Regions from separate parts of the Homo sapiens genome. Here all the other regions are linked to region 1. The links are contacts of gene promoters, found by promoter capture Hi-C in blood cells and fetal thymus (Javierre and others, 2016). All regions are on one chromosome and are shown on one strand. The core of a region is centred on a gene start or on the middle of the fragment in contact, and the rest is flanking DNA. Distances in the headings are between cores, read along the strand shown. Region 1 holds the start of OR6Q1 (olfactory receptor family 6 subfamily Q member 1). Region 2 holds the start of OR10W1 (olfactory receptor family 10 subfamily W member 1). Region 3 holds the start of OR10Q1 (olfactory receptor family 10 subfamily Q member 1).

Region 1 (2,878 bases), core at 236-2,735:
TGTCCCATTGGTCTATGTGTCTGTTTCTGTACTAGCACCATGCTGTTTTGGTTACTGTAGCCTTATAGTATAGTTTTAAGTCAGATAATATAATGCCTCCAGATTTATTTTTTTGGTTTTTTTTGCTTAGGATTGCTTTGGCAATTTGGGCTCCTTTTTTGCTTTCATATGAATTTTAGAATTGTTTTTTCTAATTCTGTGAAAAATGACATTGATAGTTTGATAGGAATAGCATTGAATCTGCGGATTGCTTTGGGCAGTGTGACCATTTTAATGATATTGATTCTTCCAATCTGTGAGCATGGGATGTTTTTTCATTTGTTTGTGTCATCTCTGATTTCTTTTAGCAGTGTTTTGTGGTTCCCCTTATAAATATCTTTCACTTCCTTGGTTAGTTGTATTCCTAGGTATTGTATTTTTTGTGGCTGTTATAAATGGAACTGCATTCTTGATTTGGTCTCAGCTTAAATGTTATTGACTAACCTGTTTTTAAATATCCAAGGCAAGGAAACTGGGTTCCCACCTGCCTCCTCACTGTCCCTTCCAAAAGTTGAGAGAAAAGACTCGACCCAGAGCTCCCTTCACTTCCTTGTTCCTAAGACTGTAGATGAGAGGATTGAGCATGGGCGTGACAACAGAGTAGAAGACAGATACCACCTTGTTGAAGTTGATGGAGGAGGTCACCTTGGTCTGGACATACATAAAGAAAAGAGTGCCATAGAAGAGGCTCACCACAGTCAGGTGAGCTGCACAGGTAGAGAAGGCCTTCCAGCGCTCAGCAGCTGAGCGGATGTGCAGCAGTGTCCAGACGATGTTGCCATAGGACACAGCAATGACCATAGAGGAGGCCAGTAGCACAGCCAGAGACACCAGGAAATCCACAGTCTCCTTCCAAGTGACATCTGAGCACGACAAGGCTAGCAAGGGTGAGGCATCACAGGAGAAATGGTCAATGACATTTGGGCCATAAAATGTTAGCTGAGACAAGAGGTAGATTGGCAAGATGGGTGTGAGGAAACCTACCAGCCAACAGGCAGCTGCCAGACGGATGCAGGTGCCCCAGGACACAAAAGCCCCATAGTGGAGAGGCATACAAATGGCCACATAACGATCATAGGCCATGGCAGCCAGTAGGAAACACTCAGTTGCCCCAAGAAAGGTGAAGATGAAGAGCTGGGATAGGCAATCAGCATAAGAGATATTCTTGCCACCATCCACCCCAATAAAACCAGCCAGCATCTTGGGCACTGTAACAGAAGTGTACCAGATTTCAAGGCAGGACAAGTGTGTCAGGAAGAAATACATGGGTCTCCGTAGTCGGTGGTCCAAACCCACCACTAAAATGATGGCCAAATTCTCCACCAAGGTGAACAGGTACATGGTGAGGAAGAGTATGAAGAAGAGGAGGTGTGCTTCATGGATGCCAGCAAAGCCCATCATGACAAATTCAGTTACCTGGGTCCAGTTTTTGGTATATGGTTGCATATGTGGCAGTGAGAGCTCAGCAAACTCATAGCCTCATAGACAATGAGAGCTCAAAGAGAACCTGTGAGGTTGGAGGATGTTGTACTAAAATGCCTTTCACTTCAGAAGAGAAACATGATGTCAACACACTGTTCTTACCCTCAAAGAATTCACAGTTCATGAGGGACATGAGAAAACAAATAATATTAGTACAAAATGAAATGCACTGGCTAAGAATAAGGCAGGATACTATGAGCAGAAATATCAGGGAAGCTCAACCAGTCTTGAGAAATCTTCCTGGAGGGAAGACTGTCTATAGCTGAACCTGAAAAGGAAGTATAAGTTAGTGAGACAAAAGGTAGAGATAGAGAGAAGACATCACAAGTATAAAATTCCAGACATCAGAGAGGAGATTGTGCATTGGGGAAACTTCAAGTAGAGACAGTTTACCATGGAGTTCAAGAGCTTGATTTCCCAAGCAAGCATACCTAGATTCAAATAAAAGAGAACCTAACAGATTTGTTGTGAAAATGTAAGTTAGATAATTCCTGTAAAGCACTTAGCATCATGTTTGAGTCAATAAATGTCAAGGGGGAAATCTACATGTTGACATCTCCTGGAATAAGATACAGAGAGAAAATGACTGTTTCTGAGCCTGAGGAGTAGGCTGGGACACCATGAAGGGCTAGCAACCAAATTAAGGGAAAGGAAAAAGCTGAGCTTCAGTCTAAAGGTCACAGGGAGACTTTAAGAATTATAAGCAGAGAAGCAATGCTATTCTTTTTACCCCTTAGAAGGGGCAGGTTTGGAGGGGAACAAGATAAGAGCCAGAGGCCGGGCCCGGTGGCTCATATGTGTAATCCCAGCACTTTGGGAGTCTAAGGCAGGCAGCTCACCTGAGGTTGGGTGTTCAAGATCAGCCTGGCCAACATTGTGAAACCCTGTCTCTATTAAAAGTACAAAAGTTAGCCCAGCGTGGTGGTGGGCACCTGTAATCCCAGCTACTCAAGAGGCTGAGGCAGGAGAATCACTTGAATCCAGGAGGCAGAGGTTGCAGTGAGCTGAGATTATGCCACTGCACTCTAGCCTGGGCAACAGAGCAAGACTTAATGTCAAAAAAAAAAAAAAAAGGAGGAGGCAGGAAGGCTGGGTTAGGAGGTTGTTGCAAGTATAGCATGGAGTGATGGTGACTTTAACTGCAGAAATGCCAGTAGGAGACTGAATATGACTATTAAGAGATAGAATCAACATAATTGGGTTTGAATCCACACTGGGTTTGAATTTAAGCTCCAATATCAACTTGAAATATGTGACCATGAGTGAATCACTAAATAATCCCATTTTTTAAAAAACAGATAATACAAGAGTTCCAAAGAGATTACTTCCTATCTCATTTTAGAATTAAATGAGAAAA
Region 2 (2,878 bases), core at 233-2,732, 240 kb before region 1:
TAGAATTATTTCCACAGTGCAGCCCAAATCTTAGATACGAAGTTGTTTTATATAAGGACTCCTAAACAAGTGATTTGATTATGAATAATCTTAAATCTTTCATTGCACGGCAAAGTGAAAGTAGAAAATGAAGAAAATGTATAAATAACATTTTCAAGCTGTATTATCCATTCGACATATAATTATTGAGTGTCTAAAATTTGCACAACATTAGGCGTGCTTATATGGGATGATCAAAATGTAAATAAAGCAGAATGGCTGCCCTTGAATTTATAAATAATAATGATGATTATCTTTTATTAGGTTGCCATTACTATGGACAGTTCATTGTGATATCTTACATTACTATTGCATTTAAACTTACAGCAATTCTTTTGTCTAAGTATAATTATTATTCCCATTTTTCAAATACAGAAATTGAGGCTTAGAGAAATTATATATTACCTAACATCATGAAGCCAGGAGCTGGAATTATTCAAACCACATCACTTCCCTTCACTGCTGATTTCACATTGATACACTGCCCCTCCTCCACATGATATAGTATAATGTGCAATATGCTAAGTGGCATTAGAAACCACTCAAAGCATTATTGAAGTTCAGCTCAGGAAAAGAGACCAACTGAAATAGATACCACTTGTTAGCTGTTGGAAAAACAGCAGAGAGCCATTTCTGCCCTAGGTGCTCTTAATATTTGTAGCTGCCTACTCATATTTTTCCCCATGCTTGTGACACTGAGGTGGGTTTGTGTGAATAATTTTTACTGGAAGTGGTGCCTCTGGGTAGAGATTTCTCTTCAAATCTCATATTCAATGACAGGAAATATTAAAATTTGGCACGTTGAAACAAGGCCACACATTACGTCTTTTCCACCTTATTTAATATGAGTTGGTCTGGGAAAAGAAGTGGAATGGATGCCCTTTGCAAATTACGTCTGTTTATTAAAAGGTTTTTGTGGAAAAGATATGGCTTCTCCCAGATTTCACATTAGCTTCTGAGAAATATGAAAAATAGATGGGCTTAGACTTTCATAATCATGCCCAAATTCACAGGAAGGCTTCTTAGATTTCCAACATCTTGGGATCACATATTTTCTCATACCTCCACCCACGCCAGGAGGAAACATATGATAAAACACCTTGTTTCCTTCAAGCCTTATACTTCTGGTCAGATAAGGATAGAAAAACCAATAGTAGACAGGGCTTTGCTTTCTGAGGCGTATCCCTGACACTGTCATACTCAGGCCTCTGTTAGCCCTTTGCTTCATGGGTAATTTTTTTTCTTTCTTCACTTCCCATCACTAGTTTTGAGAGTTACATTGACATATCACTTATTCAATACCCCAGGAGATATTGAGTGTAAATATTAGGTTGGTGCAAAAGTAATTGCAGTTTTTGCCATCAAAATGGCAAAACCGCAACTACTTTTGCACCAACCTAATAAATATGTGAATGAATAAGTGAATGAATAAATGGCTTATCTCCCTTACCTTAATGATTTCTAGCCCCAAGAATTCCTTGACACTTTCTTGTGAATTTGCTGAAAGAATTGAATTTTCATTCCACTCTTTCTGAAAATAGCTCCTGAATCCCACCCACTTCCTCTGCCATTTTTCTTCAATAGTATCTTACATAGTTTGGCCCAACTCTTGGCAGGTAGAAATTGAGGTGTAGATATTAATGTGGAGAAACTTGGTAAAAGTGGAGAAAAGAAAAAGAACTAGTCTTGATCCTTCCAGTTTCTAACTCCAGTGCTGATTACATTAGATTCATGGCTCAGAGTGTAACTTAATTTATCTTCAGTCTGATTCTTCCTTCTGTACTTGTAGCTCTCCACAGAGAAATACTGTTAGCTCAATTACCTGGGAAAATCACTCAGTGTTGATGGAATTTGTGTTCCTGGCCTATCCCTCCTGCCCAGAACTGCATATTCTGTCCTTCCTTGGGGTCAGCCTGGTTTATGGTTTGATCATCACTGGGAACATTCTCATTGTGGTGTCCATTCACACAGAAACCTGTCTATGCACATCCATGTACTATTTCCTGGGCAGCCTTTCTGGGATTGAAATATGCTACACTGCAGTGGTGGTGCCCCATATCCTGGCCAACACCCTACAGTCAGAGAAGACCATCACTCTCCTGGGCTGTGCCACCCAGATGGCTTTCTTCATTGCACTGGGCAGTGCTGATTGCTTCCTCTTGGCTGCCATGGCCTATGACCGCTATGTGGCCATTTGCCACCCGTTGCAGTACCCTCTCCTCATGACATTGACTCTTTGTGTCCACTTGGTTGTGGCATCAGTCATCAGTGGTCTGTTCCTGTCCTTACAACTGGTGGCCTTCATCTTCTCTCTGCCATTCTGCCAGGCTCAGGGCATTGAGCACTTCTTTTGTGATGTGCCACCAGTCATGCATGTTGTTTGTGCTCAGAGTCACATTCATGAGCAGTCAGTGCTGGTGGCAGCCATACTAGCCATTGCTGTGCCTTTCTTCCTCATCACCACCTCCTACACCTTCATAGTGGCTGCTCTGCTCAAGATCCACTCGGCTGCTGGCCGCCACCGGGCCTTCTCCACCTGCTCTTCCCACCTCACTGTGGTGCTGCTGCAGTATGGCTGCTGTGCCTTCATGTACCTGTGCCCCAGCTCCAGCTACAACCCCAAGCAAGATCGGTTCATCTCACTGGTGTACACATTGGGAACCCCACTGCTCAACCCACTTATCTATGCCCTGAGGAACAGTGAGATGAAAGGGGCCGTAGGGAGAGTTCTTACCAGGAACTGCCTTTCCCAGAACAGCTAGGAAAGACGAGGGGACAGCCTATCAGGCAAGTATTTGGTTCCAGCCCACCAAATCTGTATGAAACTGAGATTTCTATC
Region 3 (2,878 bases), core at 223-2,722, 200 kb before region 1:
TTGATACAGAATTCTTTCACTCCAATTTGTTTTTCTTAAAATTCTGTAGATATTTTGTATTGTCTCTTAAATTTTTGTATTAAAAATAAAGTTGTAGTCTAACCTGAAAGTGCTTAATTCACAGGTATTTTTAACTTCCCAGATGCTTGCAAAGGTCTTTCTTATTCTCTTGATTATGTTAATGCATAATTCAATTGTGCTATTGCATTTTTAGTTTCCTCATTGTCTTTTCTTATCTCAGGAAGCTCCACTTTAATTTTAACCTGACTCTGTTCACTTCCCTTTCATTTGAAACTATTTGAGTCCAAAAGTTTAGCTTCCTGTTGGAAATTTAGATAAAATGTTCAAAAGAGAGGAAATATATGAAGAGTACATATCAGAAAAGATTGTAACAATGGGTGTTTTCCTACTTGTATGTGGAGTCAAAATAACTGAATGTAAAGTGAATAACTTATAGCCATAAAGCAATGGAAAGAACAAAGGATTGATTCAGAACAACAAGAATAACCTTTGCAGACATAATGTTGAAGCCAGTTACAATAAAGTACATGCTTTAGCATTTCATATATAAGTTGAAACATAGTTACATCAATCTGTAATGATAAAAGTCAAAAAGTGGTTACTTTTGTGAAGCATAAAGACTGAGAACATGAAGGATGTTTGTAGGTCACTGGAATCGTTCTATTTCTTAATCTTTGTAGTGGTTATACTGGCGTATTTACGATGTTAAAATAAATAAACAAATCAAGCTTCACACTTAGGATTTGTGAATTCCTCCACATGTATGTTATATTTCAATGAGAGTGCTTACTGAAAAAAGTAAAAGACAAATTCATTTATCTAATTTTAAAATATGTGCAACCATACAACTCTTCACTGTAATTAAATACAAGCAAAATAATTAAGTCTTATCAATTGGATTGAAAATATCGGGGTGGGGGGAGATATTTCACAAGGAACATCTACATGTGTCTACATGTCTTGCCCCCAGGAATTTCTGCAGATGACTGTCTATCCCATTCATGAGGATTTCCAAGGAAAAGTATACCAAACCCTATATCGTGAATTCATTCTCATGCACCGTGATTGGAAACTAGCTACTAAATAGTTAATTCCAAATAAAATTGTACACTCCTGCTTTTACTAAAGAAATAAAGCGGCCGGGCGCGGTGGCTCACGCCTGTAATCCCAGCACTTTGGGAGGCCGAGGCGGGCGGATCACGAGGTCAGGAGATCGAGACCATCCCGGCTAAAACGGTGAAACCCGGTCTCTACTTAAAAAAATACAAAAAAATTAGCCGGGCGTAGTGGCAGGCGCCTGTAGTCCCAGCTACTTGGGAGGCTGAGGCAGGAGAATGGCGTGAACCCGGGAGGCGGAGCTTGCAGTGAGCCGAGATCCCGCCACTGCACTCCAGCCTGGGCGACAGAGCGAGACTCCGTCTCAAAAAGAAAAAAAAGAAATAAAGCAACTCAGCCAAGAAGAGCTCAGCGCGTCCTATTCTTTTGCATAAGACATGCCTGTGGGGAAACTTGTCTTCAACCAGTCTGAGCCCACTGAGTTTGTGTTCCGTGCGTTCACCACAGCCACTGAATTCCAGGTTCTTCTCTTCCTTCTCTTCCTCCTCCTCTACTTGATGATCCTCTGTGGCAACACAGCCATCATCTGGGTGGTGTGCACACACAGCACCCTCCGCACCCCGATGTATTTCTTCCTGTCCAACCTGTCTTTCCTGGAACTCTGCTACACCACCGTGGTAGTACCCTTGATGCTTTCCAACATTTTGGGGGCCCAGAAGCCCATTTCGTTGGCTGGATGTGGGGCCCAAATGTTCTTCTTTGTCACCCTCGGCAGCACGGACTGTTTCCTCTTGGCGATCATGGCCTATGACCGCTATGTGGCTATCTGCCACCCGCTGCACTACACCCTCATCATGACCCGCGAGCTGTGCACGCAGATGCTGGGTGGGGCCCTGGGCCTGGCCCTCTTCCCCTCCCTGCAGCTCACCGCCTTAATCTTCACCCTGCCCTTTTGCGGCCACCACCAGGAAATCAACCACTTCCTCTGCGATGTGCCTCCCGTCCTGCGCCTGGCCTGCGCTGACATCCGCGTGCACCAGGCTGTCCTCTATGTCGTGAGCATCCTCGTGCTGACCATCCCCTTCCTGCTCATCTGCGTCTCCTACGTGTTCATCACCTGTGCCATCCTGAGCATCCGTTCTGCCGAGGGCCGCCGCCGGGCCTTCTCCACCTGCTCCTTCCACCTCACCGTGGTCCTGCTGCAGTATGGCTGCTGCAGCCTCGTGTACCTGCGTCCTCGGTCCAGCACCTCAGAGGATGAGGACAGCCAAATCGCGTTGGTCTACACCTTTGTCACCCCCTTACTCAACCCTTTGCTTTACAGCCTTAGGAACAAGGATGTCAAAGGTGCTCTGAGGAGTGCCATTATCCGTAAAGCAGCCTCTGACGCCAACTGAAGGCTTAGGGGCACTGGGCTGGGTGTCTGTCTGTTGCTGTGTCAAAGAACTCTAAATGACACAGAACTGTAGTACTTTCTCACACTGTGCACTTGATGTTTCTTTTTTGCCATATTTGCCCCAAGTTCACAATTCATGCTCATTTTTCTGAAGTGCTTTGACTAAGATATGAAAATTTGGACAGAACTTACAGCGTAGGAATGCTAGTTTACTTAGCTCTACTTTAAGGATTTGCAGCTCACCTATGTCAATTGCCATATTAGGAACACCCCATACATACTGTGAATAAAGGCTGATAGGCATGCTGCCTCCTGGGGAGATGATGTAATTTACCCTGTGAAAGTTGCCTTAAGTAAGGAATATTCATAAAGACATATTTTGCTCAAATAAACACATTTTATTAT

The links. The method cuts DNA at HindIII sites, captures the fragments that hold promoters and counts their contacts. A CHiCAGO score of 5 or more calls a contact.
Region 2: a contact is called between the fragment with the promoter of OR10W1 here and the fragment with the promoter of OR6Q1 in region 1, in 7 of 17 cell types (neutrophils, naive B cells, non-activated CD4 T cells and 4 more). The highest score is 7.4, in neutrophils.
Region 3: the fragment with the promoter of OR10Q1 here is called in contact with the fragment with the promoter of OR6Q1 in region 1 in 5 of 17 cell types (neutrophils, total CD8 T cells, non-activated CD4 T cells and 2 more); the score reaches 6.2 in neutrophils.

What each region holds. Positions count from the first base shown.
Region 1 is chr11:58,029,560-58,032,437 of GRCh38, reverse strand. OR6Q1 (olfactory receptor family 6 subfamily Q member 1) reads right to left here and starts at 1,485. Exons shown (of 1, transcript NM_001005186.2): 1 at 532-1,485. The coding sequence starts at 1,485. The coding sequence ends at 532. The region is part of intron 1 of OR9Q1 (olfactory receptor family 9 subfamily Q member 1); the gene reads right to left. The HindIII fragment of the contact is 5,269 bases long and covers 1-2,878 here.
Region 2 is chr11:58,266,864-58,269,741 of GRCh38, reverse strand. OR10W1 (olfactory receptor family 10 subfamily W member 1) reads left to right here and starts at 1,482. Exons shown (of 1, transcript NM_207374.3): 1 at 1,482-2,878. The coding sequence starts at 1,884. The coding sequence ends at 2,801. The HindIII fragment of the contact is 7,272 bases long and covers 1-2,878 here.
Region 3 is chr11:58,227,512-58,230,389 of GRCh38, reverse strand. It overlaps OR10Q1 (olfactory receptor family 10 subfamily Q member 1), which reads left to right and starts at 1,472. Exons shown (of 1, transcript NM_001004471.2): 1 at 1,472-2,508. The coding sequence starts at 1,515. The coding sequence ends at 2,474. The HindIII fragment of the contact is 6,807 bases long and covers 752-2,878 here.